Regions from separate parts of the Homo sapiens genome. Here all the other regions are linked to region 3. Evidence: promoter capture Hi-C in 16 types of primary human blood cells and fetal thymus (Javierre and others, 2016). All regions are on one chromosome and are shown on one strand. Each heading gives the region's core, a stretch centred on a gene start or on the middle of the fragment in contact. The rest is flanking DNA. Distances are from core to core; before and after follow the strand shown. Region 1 has its middle 6.4 kb from the start of TRG-GCC4-1. Region 2 has its middle 20 kb from the start of FCGR3A. Region 3 holds the start of FCRLA (Fc receptor like A). Region 4 has its middle 1.8 kb from the start of TRG-TCC2-6.

Region 1 (2,700 bases), core at 201-2,700, 220 kb after region 3:
AACATTCAGGCTCCATCTTCCTTTATGTTTTTTTTTGTTACCACATGTACAGTAAAGGAACAGGCGACATGGCCCAGCTCAGGAAGAAGACCCACTTGCATAATAAAAGATTAGAGTGGGAGCGGCCAGAAATTTGCATCCTAGGCAATGGCACACCTAGTCCTAACCAGTTTTTTGCACCCTATGCAAATGGTAGACCTAGTCCAACCAATCTTTAATGCCCCATGTAAATCAAACACTGCCTCCTCACCAGGTATCTATAAAACCCCCTGCATTTCACTGCAGATCTGGAAACTGATTTCTCTGGGACCCCTCTCTCCAGCAGACAGGTATTCTTTTTCTTTCACCCATTAAACTTCTGCTCTTAACCTCATTCTCTGTGTGTTCACGTCCTTGATTTCCTTGACTGTGAGACAACGGACCTTGGGTATCACCTCAGACAATGAGGCCATTTCATTGTGGGGGCCCATCTAGGATCCAAAGTAGATTCATCAGAAGGGTGAGGATAGGAGCAGACTCCAAATATTTACTTTCATTTCAGGGCCTTCTGCCCTCAATTTTAAAATTAAACTAAAAACTGAGTGTCTGATGGCCAGTTTAAAACCTTTAAGGTGGCCACGGATCTCAAGACTCAGATGACACACTTGGTGGGAGGATCTTGGCAAACACCCCAGTGGCCTCAGAGTGCTGGGAAAGTTCGCTCTGTTTAAACCAGTTTCCTTTCATGGAGATCCTAGCTGTCATGTTGGGCTGGAAAAGGTCCAGAGGCAACTGATGGTTCCAGGCAAGGGCCACACCCCTGTATTACCTGAAGGCTTCTGGAGTAACCCAAGCCTCCAACTGCCACACTGTTGGGTGTCAGCAACAGGATCTCCAGCTTTTCCTATGGCAATTTTCCTGCTTTCTTGTCCGTAATCACCATGTCTCTTATCCAGTCTCTGTATGCAATGCTGTGGGAATTCATACAGCTCAGGAAAATAATCCTGTTAGTCAAGATCAACAAATGCCATCGTAACCAGGAATATAGCTAAAGGGAATGCCATTTTTGTGATTTTTCTAGGAACAAAAAGTTTCGCACCACCACCCCACCCTTGCCCCCAGTGAACATCTCTCTCTCTCCCCTTGGTTTGGAGAGCACATGGTATTTAAACAGCGCCACCTAGTGGAATAGAAATCCTCTCCATGAGCCATCTTGGCAAAGCCCTTTACTGAAACACTCTATTTTCTAATTCTTCTCCCTTTTTGCTCCCCTCTACTAGAGACCAGGCTGTATGTCCCATCTATGAATAGGAAAACTCAACAATGAGAGAAAAATGTCCTCTAAAACCAAATTTTAGCCCCAATACTGTTACATCAGCAGAAAAACCGCCATTCGGTCCCTACAATCTTTTAAGACACCTATTTTCCTCCAACTAAAATGGTACTTAAATAATAAGGAGATTTTATGTCCAGAAGTTAACCACAACCACTGCCTAAGAATAAATGCTTTATTCTTAGGCCACAATAGCAGATTATAGAACTCAACTAAGTACATTCCCTTCATTAATGGGCCTTGCCAAATACAACTGTTACATAGTCTTTCCTGAGGTCTATCTATCGGGGAGCCATACGGATCACACAAGTCTAGGAAGTCAAAGGGAAATCACAAGCGGACTAGAGTCACATGGGTGAGCATGACTAACTCCATCATTTGGCTCCTCTGGATCCATGGCTGCAGGTCATGCCTGCATCCATGGGTGGCACCTTTAGTGGATGCCAGGGCCCAGGGAACCAAGGAGGGAAAACAGTTGGGAGCATGCCCCCACTGTCTTCCTCTCAACCTTGGGCCATTCCAAAGGAAGGAGGGAACAAAGGACTCCTTTTGAGTGTATTCTAAAGCACTGAGACTCCTTTGACCCTGAAACTCTGCTTTTGCACAAGGGCAGGGCCTTCTTATTAGACTTTTTCAAGCACTGCACAATCGACCCAGTTATTTTAGTAGTCATATCAGGCAGGCCCAAAGGGAATGATTCCCCAAAATTAGAGAAGCAACTCCTGGGGGAACCATCTGAGGCAGTGATTGAGTGTCCTGGCCCTTTTTGTCCCCCTTATTCAGAGCCCCCTCCAACATTTTCATCAGCTCCTCCAGTTCTACCATCTCCACAACTCCCCACTCTCCCAACTTTGTTCTTACCCCTACATGAAATGCCCAATGAAGGTGATGCCATCTTAGGGTTCAAGTTCTCTTGTCATTACAGGACCTTAGGCAAATGAAGGGAGACTTAGGCTGATTCTCTAATGACCCTGGTAGGTATATATAAACTTTCCAAAATTTAACTCAGGTGTTTGACCTCACATAAAGGGACATTATGCTGCTCTTAAGCCAAACCCTAACCACAGCTGAAAAACAGTCAGCTCTACAGACAGCAGAGAAGTTTGGAGATGAGGAATATGTCTCCTATAGTAGGCCAAAAAGGAAAAGAGAAAATATGGAAGGCAAAGAAATAGGGGAATCATCATTCCCAATAGGAAGAGAGGTGGTACCTCTTGACAACCCTGAATGGAACTCCAGTGACTCCAAAGATGAATGGAAAAGGAAACACTTTTTAATGTGCATATTGGAGGGCCTACAAAGAACTAGAGCCAAACCTCTTAATTACTCTAAACTGTTCATGAATAGACAAAAAGCCAGATGAGAATCCCTCAGCCTTCATGGAAAAG
Region 2 (2,700 bases), core at 75-2,574, 140 kb after region 3:
AGGCTGGTCTCGAACTTCTGACCTCAGGTGATCCACCTGCCTCAGCTTCCCAAAGTGCTGGGATTACAAACATGAGCCACCACGCCCAGCCAGATTTCTCTCCTTATTTATATATATATATTCTGCAAAGGCAATTTCACAATGGATAAATCTCTGCCCTACCTCCCAGGCTAGCAAGTACTGAATAAGAAGCAAAAGTACTCTGCCACTGAAGAGAGAATCTCTGAGGTGCAGGCACATACTTTAGAAAGTCCTAAAGTTGGGGTAGTGCAGGAAAATTGAGAAAATACCATCCAGGAGTACCGGCGGCTCTTGGTCTACTGAAATGCTGCCTCCACCCAAGCACAAGATAACACTAGAAGAATTTGAAGGTAACTATGGCAATAATAAAACCCGAACCCAGCTCAACTCTTGACTAGATTGGCCCACACTAAGAGCTTACCAGAATAAGACGGGTTCTCATTTCTAATCATAAATGCAATTTACCTCAGTTCCTACTGTCCCACATATAATGTCCAGAATTCAATAAAAACAATGAGCCAACACAGAAAAGCAAGGTTTAAAAATCCTGTCAACAGACAATGCAAGCAATAGAAACTGCTAAAAGATGATTCAGATGTTGGTACTATCAAATAGGGAATTTTAAAATCAAACCATTAATTACAACCATATTTAACATGTTAAAGGCTCTAGTGGAAAAGGTAGACAACATACATAAACAGATGGGGAATTTCAGCAGAAAGATAGAAACTATACGAAGAGTCAAATGGAAATATTAGCAAATTTTGAAACAGAGTAAAAGAGAAGAAGAATGTATTAGGCAGGGTCATCAGTAGATGCCATACAGCTGAGAAAAAAAAAATCAGTACTTTGAAAATGGGTTCATAGAAATTACCCAAACTGAAATTCAAGGAATAAAAAAAAAGAAAATAGAACAGAACACCCAAGAACTGTGGGACAATGTAAACTGGCCTAACATATATGTAATTGAAATCCCAGAGAATAGAGAAAGAATGGGAGAGAGGAAACATTTAAAGAGAAAATGGCCAACAATTTTTCAAAAATAATGGAAGTTATCAAACCACAAATCCAAGAAGGACAAAGAAGCATAGGCAGACTAAAATACACACACACACACACACACACACACACACACACACACTCCTAAACATATCATATTTAAACTGCTGAAAATCACAGATAAATAGAGCATTATTAAAATGCCCATAGATCTTTATTTTATTTTATTTTATTTCAGTTTTTGAGATGGAGTTTCGCTCTTGTTGCCCAGGCTGGAGTGCAATGGCGCAATCTCAGCTCACCACAACCTCTGCCTCCTGGGTTCAAGCAATTCTCCTGCCTCACCCTCCCAATTAGCTGGGATTACAGGCATGCGCCATCACGACTGGCTAATTTTGTGTTTTTAGTAGAGATGGGGTTTCTCCATGTTGTCAGACTGGTCTCAACTCCCGACCTCAGGTGATCCACCCCCCTCGGCCTCCCAAAGTGCCGGGATTACAGGTGTGAGCCACTGCGCCCGGCCAGATCTTTATTTTAAAAATTTTGATTGGAGAGCTAGGATGCCAGTGCCACCACTCTAGCCAGCCACAAAGGAGATAATCAGAAGTTATATTGGCGGAAATGTCAAAATATCTAAATCTTTCTCTTGGCCAACTAAACTGGCTGGAAGATTTTAAAAGAAAAGTTTTCTAAGATATGAAGATAAGCAAAAGAAGAGTACAGAGCCTAGTTTCTAATGCACGATAATACTTTGCTTCCAAAATAAACGGGAACCCAGACCTTGTTTTCTGATCTTCCCTTCAAGACCAAAACCTCAGGCCATCTCCTCATCTGCAGTTTTCCTTATCTCTCCCTTGGCAGAAGAAGTCATTTTTCTTTCTGAATCTCAAAGTTTTCTTCCCCGAGTTGTCCTAAATGTTGCATTGGGCCCTATCACTGGAAATGCCTTTTTTACTCTAAGCCCAGGGAGAACTCAGAATTCTCTCACTTCTCTAAGAAGTGATTTATGAACCCCAGGGGCACTATGCAGTCTTTTACAATGTACCCTTGCAGTTTGCAGGGCCAAAATACTCTGAAGTCATTCACCATCTGTTTCATCACGACTTACCTGGGTTCCCCTCCTGGTGTCCCTCTGATGACTCCCCTTACTCTCCCTGAACACTCCTCTGTCTTCACCTGTCCATTAAATATTGGTGTTTGTTCAGCTTTCTGTCCTCTACATAATTCTCTATCAATAATTTTCTAAGTGAGAAGAGACCCCCTCAAAGGGTGCATCAGAACTGGAGGGGGAAGGAGAGGTAGAGGTGTAATTTTAAAAGCCTTTTTAGCATTATAATACAATTTAATACTTGTAAACTTGACAAACTAGATATGAAAATTAAGATAAAATTAAACAAAGTATGTTTATGTTCAAAGAGGTTGAAAATGAACTTTAAAGGGCTAAGAAACGTGATCCTGTATATGTCTTACTACTTCTAAATGATTTTATCTACATTCTTGGCTTCCTCTACACCAGTGGTTCTCAACAGAGTTGGTTTTGCCCCCCGCTCCCAGGGGACATTTGCCAATGTTTGGAGACACTTTTGGCTATTACAACTGGAGAGGGCTTCCCCTGGCATCTATTGAGTAGAGGCCAAGAAAGCTGCTAAATATCCTCCAGTGGAGAGCATAGCCCCCCAC
Region 3 (2,700 bases), core at 100-2,599:
TTACAAGGCTGAGAGGGTAAAAGTAGAGGCTGCTTGGCCTTTTGTGCCATGATAAAGAATTTGGGCTGGTAAACTTGAGTTTTAGAAATTACTCTGTCTGCAGGGTACAGAATTCATTTCAAGAACACAAGGTTTGGACGAGGAGATTAGTTAGGAATTTACTGGAATAGCCCAAGTCATAGAGGATGAGGGCTTGTCCTAAGACATTAGTGATGATCCAGGCAAGGGACTGCTTCTATGAACAATTTAGAAGGTAAAATTGGCCAAACCTAATGATTGATCAGATTTAGAGAATGAAAAAGAAGGAAGAGTCTGGGTTGTTTCTGAGGTTTATGGCCTTGTAAGGGTAGATGCTGGTGTCATTAGCTGAGATCAGAAAGTGGAAAATGAATTAGATGAGGCAGGGGCCAAAAGGACAGATAAGTTCAACTCTAGTCACATGGTGCAGAGACACTTGTGAGATATGTAGGTAGATATGTCTGGTATGAAGCTTGATATTTGAATGTGAAGCTCAAAAGCATGGTTAGGGTTGGGGATATGATTTGGGACTCTTAAATACAGAGTTATAGTGGCAAAAATTAAACAGACAAATAAGCTCATGAAGGAGATTGTGTAAAGAAAGAGGAGTACAGAGGCAAGGCTATAACTATAGAGAACACTAGTGTTTAAGGGGAAGAGAAGAGAAGCTATTAAGGGATCAAGAGAAGTCCATGTAGTACAAGGAGAAAATGGTGCCATGGAAGCCAGGGTAGTAGAGAATGCAAGAAGGAGTAAGTGATCAACAGAGCCCAGTGCAGCAGAGAAGTCCAGCAGGATATGAACTGAAAAGCATGCCATAACCCAGTCAATATAGAGATCGTTGTGCCCTAGACAAAACCAATTCCAGTGGAAGCCAGGCTGCAAGCATTGAGGAGCGTGTGAGAAGTGAGGAAGTGGAGATAGCAAGTGCAAACTATTCTTTTAAGAAAACTTGTCTCACAAGTGAAAGAAAAGAGTTGAGATTAGAGCTAGAGAGGATATCATGATCAGAGGGGACTTTCAGGATGGAAGATTTTTATATTCAGAAAGTAATTCAATCCTGTACACCAAACTTTCTTATACCTACCCTTCTTATTCCACCTGAATACTGCTTCTTTGGAGGGCCAGAATTAGTCCATGTTTCTTTCCTTCTGGTCCTTTCTCCCAAGGTAAGCAAAGCTCCATTCCCACACCAATATTCAAATATTTTACTTACCCAGTAGCATCTGGGCCACCCAGAGCACACCAAGGGAAAGGTAGAGGGCCCAGGCCATGAGGACACAGCCCAGCTTCATGGTGACTGTGTTTAGGTCTCCTGCAACCCCAACACTGATTTTCTTCAACATGAAACCTCTCAGATTAGAAAAGAGGAAGTAAATTTAACTGTCTCATCTCCTTGCATCTGGGGTCTGTTTTCATTTTCTAGTTTGTAATTGGCTTTCATCATTCAGATTTGGCCAACACGCTTTCAGCATCATCTGCACCCTTAGGGCTATGACAAAATGGTAGCACTCTCAGCTGTTCAAGAATTTACTCACAGAGCTCAGGGGCCTGTCAAAGCATGTCATTGTCTGATAGCCAGCTGGCCTTCATGTACACTCTGGGAAAGGTCAGTGCAACAACCACCCTTTTCACTGGTGATGCAACTGGGGACAGAAGGTGGGATGTTGTTTGAAGGCCAATAGAAAATCACTGGAGAATCAATGATGAGAATTCAAATGTCCTGCCCATTCCAACACTTATATGTTTCTAGTGACTAGAAGGTAGCGAGACAGAGAAGGAAGATTAGTCACGGCACCAAGTTAGATATCAGATTAGTCTCTAGTAGGCTCTGACTATCCAAAGCCCACACAAATTTGCATGCAAATTTCTCTAGACTCGTGTCAGCTCTCTATTTCTGGAGCATGACTAAGTCTGCTCAGTCTCAGTGGAAATATGAGTACAAGGCAGGGAGAATCCACTGGGAAAGAGTAGAGGAAAAAGAAAATCTATTCCCAGAGGATCCAGCAGTCAGCTCAGGGCTTAGGCTCATAGCCAAAGCTCAGGCCACTGATCCTGAGGAAATTAGAGATAGGAGGCATCCGATATCTTGAGAAACCTGAGGAGACTCAGGAATAGGAGCAATATAGAGGCTACAGCCTCTCCCTTCCGTTCCAGATGGCCTCCTGGGAACCATTGTCCCTGCCTCTGAATGTTTGCTATTTGTTTGAGGCCTACTTAATGGTAGGGCCCATGTGTCTTTTCACAGTGGCCACATTCCTCCCCTTTCTGTCATCATAACACCCACCAGGCCTCCAGTAGGTTATTTGGAGATGAAATGAGCCATCAGAAATGGGGTAAGGTAGGCCAGGCACTGTGGCTCATGCCTCTGTAATCCCAGCACTTTGGGAGGCCAGGGTGGGCGGATCACTGGACTGGAGGTCAGGAGTTCAAGACCAGCCTGGCCAGTATGGTGAAACCCCATCTCTACTGAAAAAAAAAAAAAAAAATTAGATGGGCATGGTGGTGCATGGCTGTAGTCCCAGTTACTTCAGAGGCTGAGGCATGAGTATCATTTGAACCCAGGAGGCAGAAGTTGCAGTGAGCCAAGATTGCACCACTGCACTCTAGTGTGGGTGACAGAGCGAGACTCCATCTCACAAAAAAAAAAAAAAAGAGAGAGAGAGAAATGGGGGAAGGTAG
Region 4 (2,700 bases), core at 120-2,619, 170 kb after region 3:
CTGAACACTGATCCACTTAGCGATTGCGCAGTGTCAATCTGGCCCCACACAGCTGTGGCTAGCCACTACCAGTCAGTACTACCCTTTGGTTCTTCTTGCCCGTGGGCACTGCAGCCTCTGTGGGACCTTAGTACTAAGAGTCAGAGAATATCAGGGAGAGCAGGTGGGCAGTAACAGGTTACATTGAAGGCATAAGCTAGATGCTGTGGCCTCCACTGGCACAGCTGGTCCTCTTGTTACAGGATGGAGGCTGTGGGGCAGATGAGAGCATAAGGGAGGTTTGGAGCTAAAGGGTGGCTGAGGTGCAGATGTCCTTTCTTCCCATCCCTGTTGAATTTCACCTCCATTTTAGGGAATGAGACTTAAAATCTCAAACATCATCCCACTACAGGCATTAACAATGGACCCTCCTGGCAATGTTTATACATTTGTAATATATGTTTATATATTAACCCATTGAAGAATTAAAATTATCATCATTATCCTCTTTTACAGGAGGAAATGGAGACAAAGAGAGCCAAGATTCAAACACAGGAAGCACAACAGAGCCCATGCACTTAATCTTCACACTGTGTTGCCTCATCCAGCCTGAATGGTTAGGGTCAATCTAATTATATATGTCATTCCAATAAATGACTTTTGTATAATAAAAGATAACGGATACATAAAACCCTCAGACAGTATTTTAAAGGCTGGAAAATTTGTGAATACAATTGCTGTTAGTTCAACCGGTGACAAAGAACTCAGTATCATAAACAGCATGTTAGGAAAAAGTTTCAACTTATCGAGACTACAAGTCATCTAATGACTATCAGTTTATTAGGAAATTATCAAAAGAGTTTGATTCCCAGCCAAACTGAATCCCTGCCTCTCTCCCATGTAACTCAGTTCCAAATCAAATGCTCAGTCCAGTACATCTGAGCCTTTTGCCAGCAGAGAGGGGGGCCCGAATGGGTTGCTTACTATGAGGCCACTTGGGGGGGTTTTATGGACTGGAAACGGGAAGGAATGTGCTTAGTTTGCCGGCTGTTTTGGAGAATGCGTGATTTAGGTTGGCCTGGGACCTTGGCCTGGGACTAATTAGAAAGCTTGGCCCGGGACCTTAGCCTAGGACCTCGGCCGGGAATAATTAGGGGCTTAAGTGATGATTTGTAGAGGCTGCTTTGCTTGGCCCTAGACCTATTAAGGAACTGAAGTGAAAGCTTGGCTCGGGACCTTGCCCAGGACCAATTAGGGGCTGAACTTGTGATTTATAGAGGCTGGACTTGCAGTTTAAAAAAAGGAAAGAAAAGTGCTTACTGGAACCCACTGGAGCCTACTGTGCCTATGCCTACAAAAAGAGAAGGAACTTTTTCCTGGGAGCCCGCTGACTATACAAAGAACAAAGGCATTTCTATTTCAGGCCTTGTTCCCTTATTTGAGTGAGCTGGAGGTTTGTGCAAGTTTTTATCTCAGAAAGTCGGAGGCTCTCCTATTTGTGCAGCCACCGGCATGTTTTCAGGCGCAACCTCCGGTGCTAGTTTGCCCGAAGCTTGACTTTTTCCCAGGCTGCTTTTTTGTTATGTGGGAATGAGGCACTGACCCGTGGGGCCAGGGGCTCTCCAGAGACACTTCCCTTGCTATCTACCAAGCTAACTAACTCCTTTCAGTTCCCCCTTAGGGTCTCCACTCCTAACTGCTGTTAGGGAGATTGGGTGTTGAATTTTTTGGCAATTTTTTGCTGGAAAGGGGTGTTGTGTGGGGAACAGCAGCTAAGGTTTTTGCGGGGCGGGCGGGGGCGCAGGTTGAAGGGTTTTTGGAAGAAAGGCGTATTTATGCGTGGTTTTATTGCATTGCCCTTTGGAGCTTGATAGCCTTTAGGCGAGAGGAAACAATTTGGGTTACAGCATTGAGTATACAAGGCCTAAACATTAACACAGGCATATAAGAAAAATAGGTGTTAGGAGCTAACTAGGTTTAAAATGAAGACTGGAATTTATTAAAAAGGGATTGTAGCTAACTGGGACTGGAGTTTGTGTTTCTTTTTGTTAATTATTTTAATTTGGTTTTTAAGCTCTTGTAAATTGTTTTTTCTTGACTGAAGAGACGAGGAGAAAAAATAAAAAGCAACTGTAATCTCCCCGTCGGGAGAGCGAACCCCGCTCTCCCGCGTGACAGACGGGGATACGCACCACTATACTAACGAGTACAACCGGGAATATTGCGTTTTTTTTTGGAAATTGTCTTTTAGAAAAAGATATTCCTAAGCTACCAGCATGCTTTCAGGGAAAGTCGCTGACTGTTGGCAAAGTTATATTTCTACTCTCTAGACCGGCACACTACGGTAGAAACATAATTCGAGTCCCACATGTCATTTTTAATAGTCACATTAAAAAGTAAAAAGAAAGAGGTGATAATTTTAATAACAAATCCTATTCTTTAACCCAACGTATGCAAAATATTACAAGTAATCAATATAAAAATATTAATTGGCTGTTTTTTTTTTTCTTAGCTAGTCTTCAAAAATCGCTATGTATTTTACACTTAAAGACGGCACATTTCAACTCGGAAAGGAAATTTTCTTCGGAAAAAAATCCGTATTTAGATTTCATAAAATTTACAATTGAAAAAGTAGATTCAATAGCCACGTTGTTTCAAATGCACTGAAACCTTCTCCAATGGTTGAGTTATTAAGTATCCATTTTAAAATTTTCACTTATT

What was found. Contacts are between HindIII fragments. The CHiCAGO score rates a contact against its expected background, and 5 or more counts as called.
Region 1: a fragment that was not itself captured here is called in contact with the fragment with the promoter of FCRLA in region 3 in 15 of 17 cell types (naive B cells, total B cells, erythroblasts and 12 more); the score reaches 13.3 in naive B cells.
Region 2: a contact is called between a fragment that was not itself captured here and the fragment with the promoter of FCRLA in region 3, in 3 of 17 cell types (naive B cells, total B cells and total CD4 T cells). The highest score is 7.2, in naive B cells.
Region 4: a contact is called between a fragment that was not itself captured here and the fragment with the promoter of FCRLA in region 3, in 4 of 17 cell types (total B cells, naive B cells, M1 macrophages and 1 more). The highest score is 14.4, in total B cells.

The regions. Positions count from the first base shown.
Region 1 is chr1:161,485,652-161,488,351 of GRCh38, reverse strand. No RefSeq gene overlaps it. Among named protein-coding and RNA genes, the nearest start is that of TRG-GCC4-1, 6.4 kb to the right of the region's middle. The HindIII fragment of the contact is 3,026 bases long and covers 1-2,700 here.
Region 2 is chr1:161,568,666-161,571,365 of GRCh38, reverse strand. No RefSeq gene overlaps it. Among named protein-coding and RNA genes, the nearest start is that of FCGR3A, 20 kb to the right of the region's middle. The HindIII fragment of the contact is 5,347 bases long and covers 1-2,700 here.
Region 3 is chr1:161,705,878-161,708,577 of GRCh38, reverse strand. FCRLA (Fc receptor like A) reads right to left here and starts at 1,349. Exons shown (of 5, transcript NM_032738.4): 1 at 1,235-1,349. The coding sequence starts at 1,313. RefSeq lists enhancers at 874-1,053, 2,594-2,700. The HindIII fragment of the contact is 3,109 bases long and covers 493-2,700 here.
Region 4 is chr1:161,531,613-161,534,312 of GRCh38, reverse strand. No RefSeq gene overlaps it. Among named protein-coding and RNA genes, the nearest start is that of TRG-TCC2-6, 1.8 kb to the right of the region's middle. The HindIII fragment of the contact is 329 bases long and covers 1,205-1,533 here.